Linked DNA regions of Homo sapiens: all the other regions are linked to region 1. Evidence: promoter capture Hi-C in 16 types of primary human blood cells and fetal thymus (Javierre and others, 2016). All regions are on one chromosome and are shown on one strand. Each heading gives the region's core, a stretch centred on a gene start or on the middle of the fragment in contact. The rest is flanking DNA. Distances are from core to core; before and after follow the strand shown.

What was found. Contacts are between HindIII fragments. The CHiCAGO score rates a contact against its expected background, and 5 or more counts as called.
Region 2: a fragment that was not itself captured here is called in contact with the fragment with the promoter of GADD45A in region 1 in 1 of 17 cell types (erythroblasts); the score reaches 5.6 in erythroblasts.
Region 3: a contact is called between a fragment that was not itself captured here and the fragment with the promoter of GADD45A in region 1, in 3 of 17 cell types (total CD4 T cells, total CD8 T cells and activated CD4 T cells). The highest score is 5.8, in total CD4 T cells.
Region 4: a contact is called between a fragment that was not itself captured here and the fragment with the promoter of GADD45A in region 1, in 1 of 17 cell types (naive CD4 T cells). The highest score is 6.2, in naive CD4 T cells.

What each region holds. Positions count from the first base shown.
Region 1 is chr1:67,683,420-67,686,760 of GRCh38, reverse strand. GADD45A (growth arrest and DNA damage inducible alpha) reads right to left here and starts at 1,560. Exons shown (of 4, transcript NM_001924.4): 1 at 1,223-1,560; 2 at 635-736; 3 at 174-411. The coding sequence starts at 1,266. RefSeq lists enhancers at 1-131, 1-306, 337-386, 1-589 and silencers at 487-626, 697-826, 1,297-1,456, 1,647-1,706, 1,717-1,896. The HindIII fragment of the contact is 4,802 bases long and covers 1-2,469 here.
Region 2 is chr1:69,539,324-69,542,664 of GRCh38, reverse strand. All of the region lies in intron 3 of LOC105378789 (a long non-coding RNA gene), which reads right to left. Among named protein-coding and RNA genes, the nearest start is that of LRRC7, 27 kb to the left of the region's middle. The HindIII fragment of the contact is 1,256 bases long and covers 1,250-2,505 here.
Region 3 is chr1:66,273,366-66,276,706 of GRCh38, reverse strand. All of the region lies in intron 7 of PDE4B (phosphodiesterase 4B), which reads right to left. Among named protein-coding and RNA genes, the nearest start is that of PDE4B-AS1, 220 kb to the right of the region's middle. The HindIII fragment of the contact is 795 bases long and covers 1,382-2,176 here.
Region 4 is chr1:66,330,391-66,333,731 of GRCh38, reverse strand. PDE4B (phosphodiesterase 4B) reads right to left here. Exons shown (of 17, transcript NM_002600.4): 8 at 1,112-1,224. Among named protein-coding and RNA genes, the nearest start is that of SGIP1, 200 kb to the left of the region's middle. RefSeq lists enhancers at 80-129, 160-219. The HindIII fragment of the contact is 841 bases long and covers 830-1,670 here.

The DNA of each region.
Region 1 (3,341 bases), core at 311-2,810:
TCCTGGTGATGAAACTAGCACATCTCGGCTGAAAGTCCAGCCACACTCTAGTCGGACAAAGGCAGCCACCCTCCTGACCCCCACCTACCACAGATCCACAATCAGGCAACCCAGCCCTGACTCCCGTCCTTCCGGGGCTCTACCCTGCAGGCTGCAGTCCCCCAGTCCCTTACCGTCACCAGCACGCAGTGCAGGTCCGGGGGCTGCTCGGCGCCCTCGCTCGCCGCGGGGCCAGCGTCGGTCTCCAAGAGCAGGAGCTCCGCCAGCCGGCCCGGGTTGCTGACGCGCAGGATGTTGATGTCGTTCTCGCAGCAAAACGCCTGGATCAGGGTGAAGTGGATCTGCAGAGCCACATCTCTGTCGTCGTCCTCGTCCGCCGCCAGCAGGCACAACACCACGTTATCGGGGTCGCTGGGGGCAGCGGGCGGGGCCAGTGAGCGCAGAAGCGCGGGCGCCCTCAACCACTGCCCGGGTCCCTGGGGGTCGCCGCCCGGCCCGCTCGCCCCCTCCCTTCCGAGACAGGCAGAAAAGCGACAGGAAGTGGCGCGGCCGGGCGAGGGGCGCCCAGCCAAGGCGACCTCCCGGGCTGGGGCGGGAAGGGGTGCCATGGGGGACGCGCAAGGGCCCCACTTACACGTTGAGCAGCTTGGCCGCTTCGTACACCCCGACAGTGATCGTGCGCTGACTCAGGGCTTTGCTGAGCACTTCCTCCAGGGCATCCCCCACCTTATCCATCCTACACGCGGGCAAGGGCGAGGGGTCCCGTCAGCCCCGGTGCCCTCGGGGCCATCGCCGCCCCCCTCGTCCGGTACCACGCCCCTCCCTCTCGAATGCAAGCACCACCGCGCACCTGGGCTCTACGAAAACCCGGCGCTCCCGCGGCCCCGTCACCCCCCATGACCCCTGCACGCCCAAGGACCGGGCGTCCCGTGAGAAGTCCCGAGAGTGCCCCTGCCACAGGCTGCCAGCCACGGGAGCCGCACGGGCAGCGACGGCCACTGCTGCCCTTTGCAAAGGCCCCGGCGGGGCTCGTTCGGGTTGGGGGGCACGCTCTTTCAGTCCGTGGGAGCTCCACGGAGAGTCCCGAGGGAGCAAGGGCGGGAGTTGCCCTGTGCAAACTTTTTAGCTTCCTCCCCTGCAAGCCTTCCACAGCCCGGCTGCACCGGGGAGCGCGGGGTAGGTAAGAGAAGTTCGGGCCGGAAGAGTCCGCAGGCCGACTCACCTTTCGGTCTTCTGCTCTCCAGCCGAGAATTCCTCCAAAGTCATATTGCAAACTGCAGGTCGCCCAGGGAGAGAGCGCGGCGTGCGGGCTGCTCCTGCCACGGCTAGCGCGCGGGCGCCTGCTTTCTGCACTCACTCACAGGCGCCGCTCCGGCAGCTCAGGCCCTGGCGCTCTCCGGCCGCCCCTCGCCCGCCCGGGCTCCTCCTCCTGTGCCAGCCGCCGCAGCTCCGGCCACCCCTCCCGCCTTGCTTGCTCGCTCGCTCCCCGGACCTCGCCTCGCCACGGGCCGCACGACACTAATTGGGCCGCTGCCTCCCAGCCACTGCCTACCAGCCACTGGAGGACAAAGGGCCCCGCTCTCCGGGGTTATCCTGCCAACCCTCAGCCAACCACCTTCCGCCTCATTTGCATGCAGCTTGGCCATTGGGCTATGCAAATCAGCCTGCTCCAGCAATTTGACCCCAGCTCCTGGAGTCAGGTTGAGAGGAGCGGAAAAGGGAGGAGCCACGCGGGAGGCGAGCCGAGGGGGCGGGGGCGGGGGCGGTGCCGAGAGGGGAAGGCGGGTCCCGCGCGCACTCTTATCCGGTTGGCGGGGACCATTGGGAGTGGGGGGCTTTAGCAGAGGCTAGAGGTGGCCTCAGCTTGGGCTGAAGCAGGCTGCCAAGTGTTTTTCTATAATAGTTGCGGCACTTTTTTCTTATTATCTTTTCATGTCTTTTGTTTTAAGGGGTGGCTATTAAAATCTATTTCCAGGGTTAATGCACTGAAGTCTAGTAATTATTAGTAAGCAGGTTACATTAAAAAAGTGTCTCCAGACCTCCGGGGCAAAGTTTACCTCAGAAGTGTTGTTTATCTAAGTCTAGGCGAAGCTGCTTATTAGCAGTAGTATTATTTCGGTGCCCTGATGGCTGGTTTGATTTATTTTTGGAAAGCTGCAAGGGTTGGAAGCTGAAAAAAGAAAAACCAACCCGTTTGTATTCAGGGATGGCAGGGAACCAAGTTAGAATCTTTTCCACAGAAAGCAGAACGGTTTCCCACCTGCCCGGTGTAACTGGGAAATCGTGAGCTGGTCTGCGTGGGGAGCTGGTGACCACATGTGGGAATCCCTGGCAACCCAGATTCTCCTTTCTCAAAGAGCCTTGCCCAAACAAGGATCCTTCTGGACGCCCACCAGCTGAGAGACAACCATCTGACACCCACACAGCCCACAAGTCTAAATTCAAAATGCTCTCGATATGCCCTAAGCTTCCTTTCCTAACGTATGTATGTCGTTACCTTCCACAGAGAGCCTCCTATGATCTCACTGTGAATTATTGATGTTAGATGCTGAATCATGAAGCTGTAACTATAGGAAGTTTTTAGTCATATGCTAAAATTTCACCTTTGAGATAATGGCAACTTGTAGGTGGAAAGCAGACCTTTAAAACTGCAAATGGTAGTTACACATTTTTGAAAAACAAACTTTAATATATAGACTCTCACTGAGTAGTTCAAAAGTCCCTTCCTTTGTTTTATGGTTTATGCAATAAAAGCAAAAACATTTCTTAAACCTACTGAAGTCATCAAAAGTGGTGAAAATGGCTCCCACATGCTTGCATTCAAAACAGTGCTTGCATTATTAAGGTTGCTGTACAGCCAAAGGTCACAGAAGTAATTTCTGCAAAGGTACCTGGAAGTTTTGCACCCTTATGTTTTTATCACTCTAGACAAAATATTCTCCAGCTCTCTTGATCTTAATTTGGTGGAAAAGAAAAGTGATAGGTTTTCTGGTTCATTTATTTGAGTTGTCATTTTGCACTCATTTTTTCACTGTGTTGTCAGCCATGGACAACATTTGAGTAAAGAAATGGTCATGGTCAGTGCATAATTCACCTAAGCATGACTATGTATCTCATATCTATGCCTTAAATCTTAACATTTGATGTCTTTCTTAAAGAATTCCTCAACATTGAAATTTAGGTAGGTTACCGAAGCATTTTCAGTTTTGCAGACAAAACCTGAATTACACAATCTAGCCTGAGTCATCATTTGGCGATTGTTAATATGTTCCGTGGAACTCCAAGGTTCTATCCACTAGGCATTTCTTAGAGGTTCTTGGGAAGAAAATGTGATCACAGCA
Region 2 (3,341 bases), core at 628-3,127, 1.9 Mb before region 1:
AAATGTGTGCCAAATATCCAAGTATGAATAGCTATAGTTTGCCTATTTGTCATTCTTTCAAATTAAAATGGTGCTCTATGAAAAGAGATTATTTCAGCTTGCAATTTACACAATCACATAAGTGCTTTTCTTGATACAAATACGTTTGGTTATGTAGTGAAGTGTTTTGGCATTTTTCTCATTTTTCTCCCACAGGATACATTGAAAAGAAGTATATTCAAAGGTTGACATTTAATAAAATTAATAATTTTTATTTTTTCATCAAAACCATTCTTAAGTGAAACTGATATTCTATTATTATTAGTATGACTATTATGTAATTTTATTTTTAAAATGAAAGTGTGTGGTAAAATGCAATGGCTAACAGTATAGCTCAGGGCCACCACCTTGATTCTTGCCTTAAAGCCAGCAATTTTTCTGACCATTGCTCTTGCACCATTAGTGAAAATTTCAATGTAATGAATAAAGCAAACAATGTCTTGATATTATTATGAAAATAGTTTTGGCTTTTCACATTACTTGTAAAGACCTTAAGGACATTCAAGGGTCTTAACGTCTGAGAACTACTGCTCTTCAGAAACCTTTTAAAGTCAGCCAATTTAACCTGTACATTCAATGCAAAGGTTAAAAAAAAAATCTTTGTAACCGCCTTCTCTCCTTGGCATTGTGATAGGTGCTAAGGCTAGAAAGATGTAGAATGCTTCTGCTCTCAAGGAGCAGGAACATGCTAGAGTCATTCTAGCCCTGAGAGTAGAATTTTGAGCCTTCTAATGTCAGTGCTCTGCTAGACAAGCAGAGGGAAATGAGTAGAACACAGGAAGACAGGGAAACACGTCATTCTGTCTGCAGATTCAGGCAACGACATCCAGAGTTGAAAAGAGGTTACCCAGGTGAATAAACAGGAGATGGGATAGTGCTCTAGGCCAAAGAGTAACCCTGAAATAAGGTATGGAGACAAAACATGTGTACAGACTTCAGTATTTCAAAAAATGAAGTTAGAAAAAAATGGGTTTTAGGTCACTCAGAGCTTTGTGTGCCCAGCTAAGTTGTTACAACTTTAAAATGCTGAGATTATGTCAGCAGGACTAGGGGATGAATTAGGCATAGACGGAATGTTAGCAGGTAGCAATAAGGAGTGGAGTGGGAAAAGGGAAATTTGGAGAGTTTAATTTGGAAGCTGTTGAATCTGTGTTTATGACATGCCAAATGAATTGGTACTGCTAGAATATAAATATATGCACCTGAAGCTTAAAGGTGACATCATAGGTATGATGGATTTACATTGTTAGTGTCTAAACGGCAATTACAATTGTGAGACTAGATGAAATAGTGAAAAGACTGTGGAGAGAAAGGAGCAGGGGACCAAGAGTAGATGTCTCAGTAAACGAGAGTTAGCAGGGGAAAAGGAACCTGTGGACGAAGTTGCAAATGAAAAGGCAGAAAGATGAGGGCAAAACTGTTATTGGATGATATTAACACTTAAACCAGTGAATTTAGGGTAACCAGATTGCTCTCTGTAAGGTGGGTGGGTCTCATCCAATCAACTGAAAGCCTGAATACGACAAAAAACCCAGCCTTCCCAAGGAAGAGAAAATTCTTGAGCAAACTGCTTTCAGATTCCACCTGCACCATCAGGTTTCCCGGGTCTCAAGCCTACTGGCCCACATTTCGGATCAGATGTGAACTTGCCAGGCATATATCTATTCTCCACACACCCCTTGGCTCTCTCTGTCCTATTGGTTCTATTTCTCTGGAGAAACCTGAGTAATTCAGAAACTGTGAAAGCAAATTATCATGAAAATAAATTTGTAGAGCAGAGAGTAATCAAGTAAGTTCCTCAGAATATCTCTTCTATTGCATGCTAATGGGTGCTAAAAACAAAGAAAGAAAGAAAGAGTTTTGCTGTAATTATATCTGGGGAATTTCTTGGTGCCATTTTAAATGCACTCAGCACAATCACGTAAAGTGTAAAATGCGAACTTTTAAAATATTTTCAAATCTAATATTTCTAATTCACCCTCACTTTTCTGGGTAGTTAGGGAGTTGCTTTTTATTTTTAAAGATCATTTTAAATTTACAAACTACCTAGTGGTAATAATTTTTAGTTTAAATTAGTTTAAATTCTTATAGGTACATGCTCAGTTTTTCACAGTTCTGCAAACTTCTGCTTTTCCCGCAAATGGCATTTGGATTTCTATAGCAGATTACTGTGTTCTTGTCTTAGAAAGAGAGCCCTGTATCTATGGGTGTTCCTTTTGGACTCTGTAGCGATTACTCTCTTGTCTACTTGGTCACTGCTCTTTCAGCTAAAATTTACTATCCAAGTTGGCAGCTGGTGAGCATATGATGTTTTTTCTGAGTTTGGCCAGGGCCTGTTGTCTTCCCTGATAACTCGACCCTATCTTAGTCCTCACCAGCACTTGAGGTCTGGATGTACCTTAACTGAACCCTAATCTACAACTGCAGAGTTACTTTTCCCAGTCACAGCAACTCGTAGGGTAAGCTTGCTAGCCAGCAGCTTTGCGTGCCTCTCGAAGGCCACTTGGAACTTCTGGCCACCTGCTAAACCCACAGGGCAAGCTGGAATTGACACTGGACGGGTAACTCTTGTTAGCCTCTGTCCAAACACATGATGCCACTGACTTGACTTTGTTTAAACACATTAATATAGTTGCCATTGGTTATGCAGAATACTTTTGCAGGAGGTTCTCCCTACTAAAACCAATGACAGAATGGCCTTTCTGCCCCTGAATTTCCCCTCACCTACATAGCAAACAGCCCTACTTTAGGCTGGAAATGAAAGAACAGGCCACACACATCCCGTCGCTTAATTCCTCCTCTTCAGGATCTCTTGTCCTTCCAAGTATCTATCTGAAATCAAAGAGGCGAAATTTCCACTTCCCCAGGATTTGACCAGATTTCCTTTCATCCATAGAATACTCCTTCCAGAGAAAATATTCCCTCCATTTTCCATTCCCTGAAGCTAGACTAATGGAAATATTGTAGTGAGCATGATTTTTATGACAGAGGAGTAAAAAAGTATGCGTTTACACTTAAATATAATCATGTATGTAAAGATCTGCAAAAAAGTGTTCTATTGCTTTTTTCTCTTAAACTTGATCACAGAGACCTTTTGACAAAAAGAATATTTCAAGATACAAATTTTCTTGAAATGCTAAGAATGAATGTAGAGTTTTAAAAAGGAACAAATGAACCACAAGTAAAATACAAGTGAAAAGTTTAGAAAGATGAGTGCATTGGGATGCACTGCTAAATGATCCATGAACTTCCTGGGGATGTTAAGACATTTTTGTTTGTTGTTTGCTTGTTTTAGGAGATTG
Region 3 (3,341 bases), core at 530-3,029, 1.4 Mb after region 1:
TCAGTGGCTAACACAGTGCCTTGTATACAGTATGAATTTAACACGTTTATTAAATACATTAATGAATGAATAATGGACGTGTGAGATGTATTTCTCTCAAGACTTACACCTTTGCTTACTACTTACAATAAAATGGATAGATGAGAAAGAAATTAAAGAAAGTCCTCTAGTATGTAATAATTATTAAGGTTGTTGGTAGTCCAGTCACTTCGCTTTCTTGCTATGACATTTTCCCCATCCCCTTCTTGATAAGCTATAACATCTGAGGTTTACAGTGGGATGGAGGCAGAGACAGTGTGGTTTAGACTGCAGAGGAAAGAGCATGGGTTTTCAAGAAATACAGATCTAGCTTTCAGTTCTGATTCTATCACTAACTTTGTGGTCTTGAGTGAGCCCCACATACTTCCTGAATCTTCTTTTTCCAAATATGTGAAATAGGGGCAATAATATACGCAAAGAAGTTTAGTTTGGAGAATTAGGTGACGTGATATATTCAAAGGGGCTAGCACTGTGCCTGGCACATACCAGAAATGGAATAAGCACTAGCCCCTTACCTTTCCTGAAATCAGAGGCACACATGTGGGCTTTGGACATTATCTAGTTTATTAGACCAGCAGTGCTAGCCAGACTAGACCCTAGAAATTTGAAGCCCCAAATACAACTGAGGGGGCAGAGAGAAAATAGCATTATCTGACCTGGCTGCCTGTAAGATTCAAATAAGCTGGATAATCGCCATGGTCCCAGCTTACTCTGTGGACACAGCCAGACAGGGGGTAGGAAAAATACAGAAAACTCCAAGGGGTCGCTTTTGGTGCTTGTCAACAGCTCTGACTGGGAGGAAGTCAAGACAATAAACCAAGAAAAAGATCCAGTGAGTTCTGTTGCCTGTTCTCTATTTTGAGGGGACAGTCCCTGCTTTGTTTCCCTCCTCTTGGGTGAAAGGCTGTTCCCTGAAATGCTCCTGGCTTCCGAGAACAGTTCTGGAGGCAACTTCATAATGTGCTGGCTCGGGGTTGATCAGAAGCAAGCAAGCAGAATTCACCCTGCCCCCAGGATCATACCCACTTGGGGAAGCAGGAGGCAGAAAAAGGAACTTCGGTGGTCCTCTTCCTTCCTTGTCTCTTAGCAAACTTCCATATTCATTCTTCTCTAGGCTAACTCCAACCTCCTTTTTTATCTCCCTCCCTTCCAATAAAGAGAGGAGAATGGGTTAAGATGGGTATGAGGTTGCTTTTTCCTTCTCAGCAGTAATTGGAGAGGGTGTAAAGTTTTTCCCAAAAGGGCCAATCCTCTTCCCTTCCTGCAGACTCTGCTAGTGGGTTTTGTCCTCTCTGCAAAGGGAGGCTTTGCACCAGCTCCTAGCGCTACTCCCTGCTAAGCTTCCTGGGTTGTAACACCTATGCCTGAATAGGTGTGTACCAACCCTGAAACATGTATTTCAATACAACTTTGATGTGCTGTACAAGCTGTAATGATGCTATCATATAAAGTGGCATCCTGTCAGGCTTATGCAAGACAGGGCTTTCAGTTAACTAAGATTTGGTTTACCAGAAGTCCTAAGTAATTTGACAATCTTTTTTTGCACTCTGCTTTTAAGAGAAAAAGCTGTATTTAGGGGTGTCCCTTTATATTTGGTGTCAGCTCCATTCTCCCTCCTGACTTTTCAGCTTTCCCATGTATGAGCTGGAGAACTCTACCTTCAGCTCTAAAACTATTTCTATATAACAAGATTTCTATAGTCTCAGGAGGAAAAAAAAAGTCTTAAACTTCAAAAATTACTCCCTTCAGATGGTATTATTATGGAAGCAAAGTAGACCAGAACCTTCTAGAAAGAGCTCAACAGGGCTTTCTGTTGTGGTTCTCTACTGATACCAGAAGGCTGGGATCTTAGCTACCACACATTGGTGGTTTGCTATGTGCTGAGTACTATCTGAGTCATGTTATATAACACTAATAACACCAATACTAACACTGGGACTTTCTACATGCTTTATACATGTTAACATATTTAATCCTTACAACCAAAACACACAATTTCCATCCTAATTTTGGAGACGAGGCAATTAGGACACAGAGAGGTTAAGCAATTTGTCCCAAGGTCACAAAGTGGTGTGGCTGGAATTTGAAAGAGGCAGTCTGACTCCAGAGTCTTCACTCTTAATCACTATATAAAGCTTTTCTCATTTAGCCCTTACAACAATCTTAACATATAGAATATTAAAATGCCCATTTTCAGCTGGGCGCAGTGGCTCATGCCTGTAATCCCAGCACTTTGGGAGGCCGAGGAGGGTGGATCACCTGAGATCAGGAGTTCGAGACCAGCCTGACCAACATGGTGAAACTCCTTCTCTACTAAAAATATATAAAAAAAAAAAAAAATTAGCTGGGTGTTGTGACGCATACCTGTAATCCCAGCTACTTGGGAGGCTGAGGCAGGAGACTCACTTGAACCTGGCAGGCAGAGGTTGCAGTGAGCTGAGATTGTACCATTGCTCTCTAGCCTGGGCAACAAGAGTGAAACTCTATCTCAAAAAAAAAAAAAATGCCCATTTTTCAGACAAGAAAAGTGAGTCTCAGAGAAGTAACTTCTCTGAAGGATTAACTGGGTTCTCAAACCAATTCCATTCAATATGCTACTTGAGTGCCTACTTTGTGGCAAGCACAATGCCAGGCACTAAGAGAACAATATAGTATGATAAAAATTCATTTAGTTGTTTTTCTTCCATTTCTTTTAACACTGCCACTTCTTCCTGAAGTGATGGATAACAAAGAGTTCACTTCAAGTGCCTTGAAAGTCACACGTTGTCAAGATTAGCAAGGGATGTCAGCACTATGCACATGTCCTGAGAGCTAGCAGATATTTCAGTAAGCCTTAACAAAGCTGAACATGAGCCTCACTTCCTTTCTAATCTTATCTGGTTCAGGCATGGGCATTATTTCATCCCTATTTGTTCAGTCCATAAACATTTATTGAGCATTTGCTATGTCCCGGGCTTTATGTTATAAATTGAGGATATAGAAAAAGAGGATTAGTATTTGAACTTGGGATGCTTTTAGTTTAGAATGGGAAAAAATGAAATAATTACAATACAGTATGACAAGTGTAATAACAGAGATTTTGAGATAATAATTAACAGTAATTTTGGGTGAGTTGCAGAAGGTATATCAAGAAGATGAAGGGTTAAAATGCACTTTCCAGAAGGAAATGGGTAAAGGAAGTAGTATTTCCTATGCACATAGTATATATCAGGGCCCAGGCCCTGAATTGAGACTATATATTTATTTTAATCCTGAATCCAAGAATCAGATGATATATAGAATTTGTTCACAGTGACAATGTG
Region 4 (3,341 bases), core at 1-2,500, 1.4 Mb after region 1:
TCCTCTGAGCCGCAGCCAGCAAGCCTTGATCCAAAGGTGGTACTTTTACCCCAGGAAAGCTGGAGAAGGGACACACACTCACTGGTGCACCTCAGGGCTGGAAAGGGCATGCTGGCAGGTGTGGAGCAAAATATCTTCTCAGCCCCAGAAACGTAGACAACAAGATGATACTTCAGGCTAGAATGACTGGGACTCTGAAATGTGCACCTATGAGGGTATGGTGTAAGGCTTTTTAACAAAGTGTATGTGTGTGTGTGTGTGTGTACACACACATATATAACTTTGTATAACTTTATAGCAATATGTATTTAATATAATATTCTCCAAGGTAAAAATACAAACAAAAAGCAACAACTCTCACTACATAAATTAGCATTCTAAGTCCAGGTGTTAATTAAACAAATGATATAATGATAGATAATTAAGGCTCTTCAACATTAAGCTTTGTCTGGGGATTGTAAATAAAACCATTTTGGGGGCAGTATGCATGAAGCAATTTCAAATGATTTCACTATGAAAATCAGCAAACTTAAAGAAAACCTCTGGTTTTGGAGACAAAGCATATTGTTTCTTTTTTATCTTAGGTCATGCCAGCATCGCAAAAGAAATCTTAGAAAATCCCAGGATATCCTTCTTTTTAGAGGGAATTTATCAAACTTCAACACAGACCATTCTTTCCCATTGATATATGAAGGTTAAACTACTTTCTTGTTTAAAAATAAATATGTGACACCTGATTGCAATGCAACAAGACTAACTCAGATTTTAGCTTCCTGATAATTGTAAAAAAATTTTAAAGCACTTTCAATGTTATATTGATTTGGAAGCTTTACAGACAGACATCTCTCACCTTAAACCTATTCCAAACTGCATCAGTAAGAGAGAAGTTTTGTTTCTGGAAATTGAAGCGTACTGAGGATTTTAAACTTTTGCTGTAGCATCAAGACACAAGTAGAGTGTGACACTTTGGAAGAGAATCTTCTAGACAAAGCAACAAACATATTCTTAGAGTTGGTAGCATTCCCTGGTGCACTCTGCTGCAGACAGGGGTGAGGGGAGCTGGAGCTCCCTGCATGATCACACTTTAATGAATAAAAAGATCATCTCTTACCTTGTTAGAAGCCATCTCACTGACAGACCGGTAGGTCTGTATGGTCTCTAGCTGGTCTAAACACCAGTCTAATTCCTCCAGCGTTTCCATTGCTAATTTTTGATAAGATTCTTCTGCAAACAAACACACAGGCATGTAGTTAGGCTGGAGCGGCTGCAGGCTGTCCATAGCAGAGTCACCGCTACCACCGCTGATTCCGGTGCTACTGAAGGTGCCCCCGTGCTCCTTCATTATTTGCACGCTGGCTCCTTCCTTCCAGCTCTCTCCACCAGGAGAACAAATCACAGTGGTGCTCTGCCTGGGATGGCTGGTGCCAAGTTTCCCCCCAACCCCCCGCCTGGATGAGGTGTCGGTGATCTACCAAGAAACTTCCTCTGAGGAAGAAGGCGGAGGGAACGGTCTCTTATAAGCTCATCTGCATAAATGTGTCCTAAAACTAAAGGCAGAAGCACCAAAGAGTTTTCTCAGACTCTCTCTGCCTTAGTCATCCCAGGGTTCTTTAGGGTATGTGATGTCATTTCTGAGTGCTTTGCCATCTCAAGGAGAAATGAGGAAAGCTTTTTCTCATTTTGCTTTTCTTCTAAATGAAACAGTCAAAATTCGGGTGAAAACTGGTTGACCATTACGTTCAAAGTCTAGGCAGTCATTCATCCTGAGGATTGTGTTCATGTTGGAATAACTTCTAATTCAGCGAACACTGACCCGCACAAGTAAGAGGCATAGGCTATTCCTTTCTCTCCCTTAAATCTTTCCTTTAATTAGAGGGAAAATGAGGTCTCCCTGATAAGACTCCAGTCTAAAAGAAGCTGTCTGGAGTTTTACGTGAACACGTTTATTGGCCTGGGAGTCCTGCAGCTCTTGTTATACTAAACAAAGCTAAAACTTCCCTTCTGCAAGTGCCAGGATCACAGGGAAATTCTGAACCGGACTTTCAGGTGGAGCCAGATGTGAACACTCTGCAGATTTTTATTTTGATTAAAGCTGGGGGCTCCAATTTGTTGCCCTAAGACTCTAGACTTTCTGGAAATATTGTTGGTATTTCACACAAAAAATATTGTTGTGAAAATCACATTTTTTTGCTAGATAATTAAAATTCTTTTTACATATCCTTAACATGTCATTTTATATCCAAAAGTTTGTGAATCTAAACAAATACTTCAGGTTACTGGCTTAAGAAATCTATCTTAATAAGCACTGAAATAACTTTATAAATGCTAGATGAATTAATGAAGCTACAGAGAGTTGTAAAAAGCACTTGGACTCTCCTATATACACGACTGTTTTTGAGAGAAATAGCATTTATAAACTCTACCAAGATTTCTGAAATACAAACACACAATAGGCACTAATAAAATGTAAAATCTCACATGGAGTTCTAATATAACATTCCTGCCATATTTAAAAGACATTTTTATACATTTATACAGAAATTCTAGCAAGACCACATGGTTTTTAAAAATTATTATATGAATAATCTTATGTCTGTGGTGTGCAAATACTTGAAGCAGAAAAGAGAATCAACAGAACTGTGATTCCAAGTAACTGGAATCACTTGGCCACAGACGCATATTTCAAAGAATAGTTGCTTTGTTTATCCCCGAAATATTCATACACTTCAAGATAAACAGGGGTTAAATTCAATATCCTGTATGTCATGCTTAAAAAGCCACAAAACCACTGGAGGTAACTTCCTCCATTTTTTTTTCACACTCTTCAAAAATGTGCAGACAAGAATTGAGGTGTTTTTAATAAAACTCATTTCAAGCCAGACTTACACATACCTTCCTTCCTTTCTTCATCTTCAATTTTGCAATGCTGCCTCAACACGAAGATTCTCTGACTTACTCTCTAGTGTGTCCGAAACAACCCCTTGCCTCCTCTGTTTGCTTCCAGAAGAGCACTTCTTCCAAGGAAGCCTTTTCTGAAGAGACAGAACCCTCCCATTCTCATTCCCTGCCTCTAATAAAGGAAAAAGTCCAACCACTTCCCAGCTGCTGGGGATTTACTACCTTCATGTCTTCCACATCACAACCTGTGGTTCTCTGTAACTAATATTGGACATTCACCAGGACGGTGGGGAGAAAGTAGCTTGCTCCTAGCCTTTTGAATCCACTGATATGCAAAATGACTGCAAGATGATACATCACATTTCTCCTTCATGCAGAGGAAAAAAGGGATCTGATTTCTATTCAAGCTTGACCAAGGAAATACATACAGTAATTATACCCGC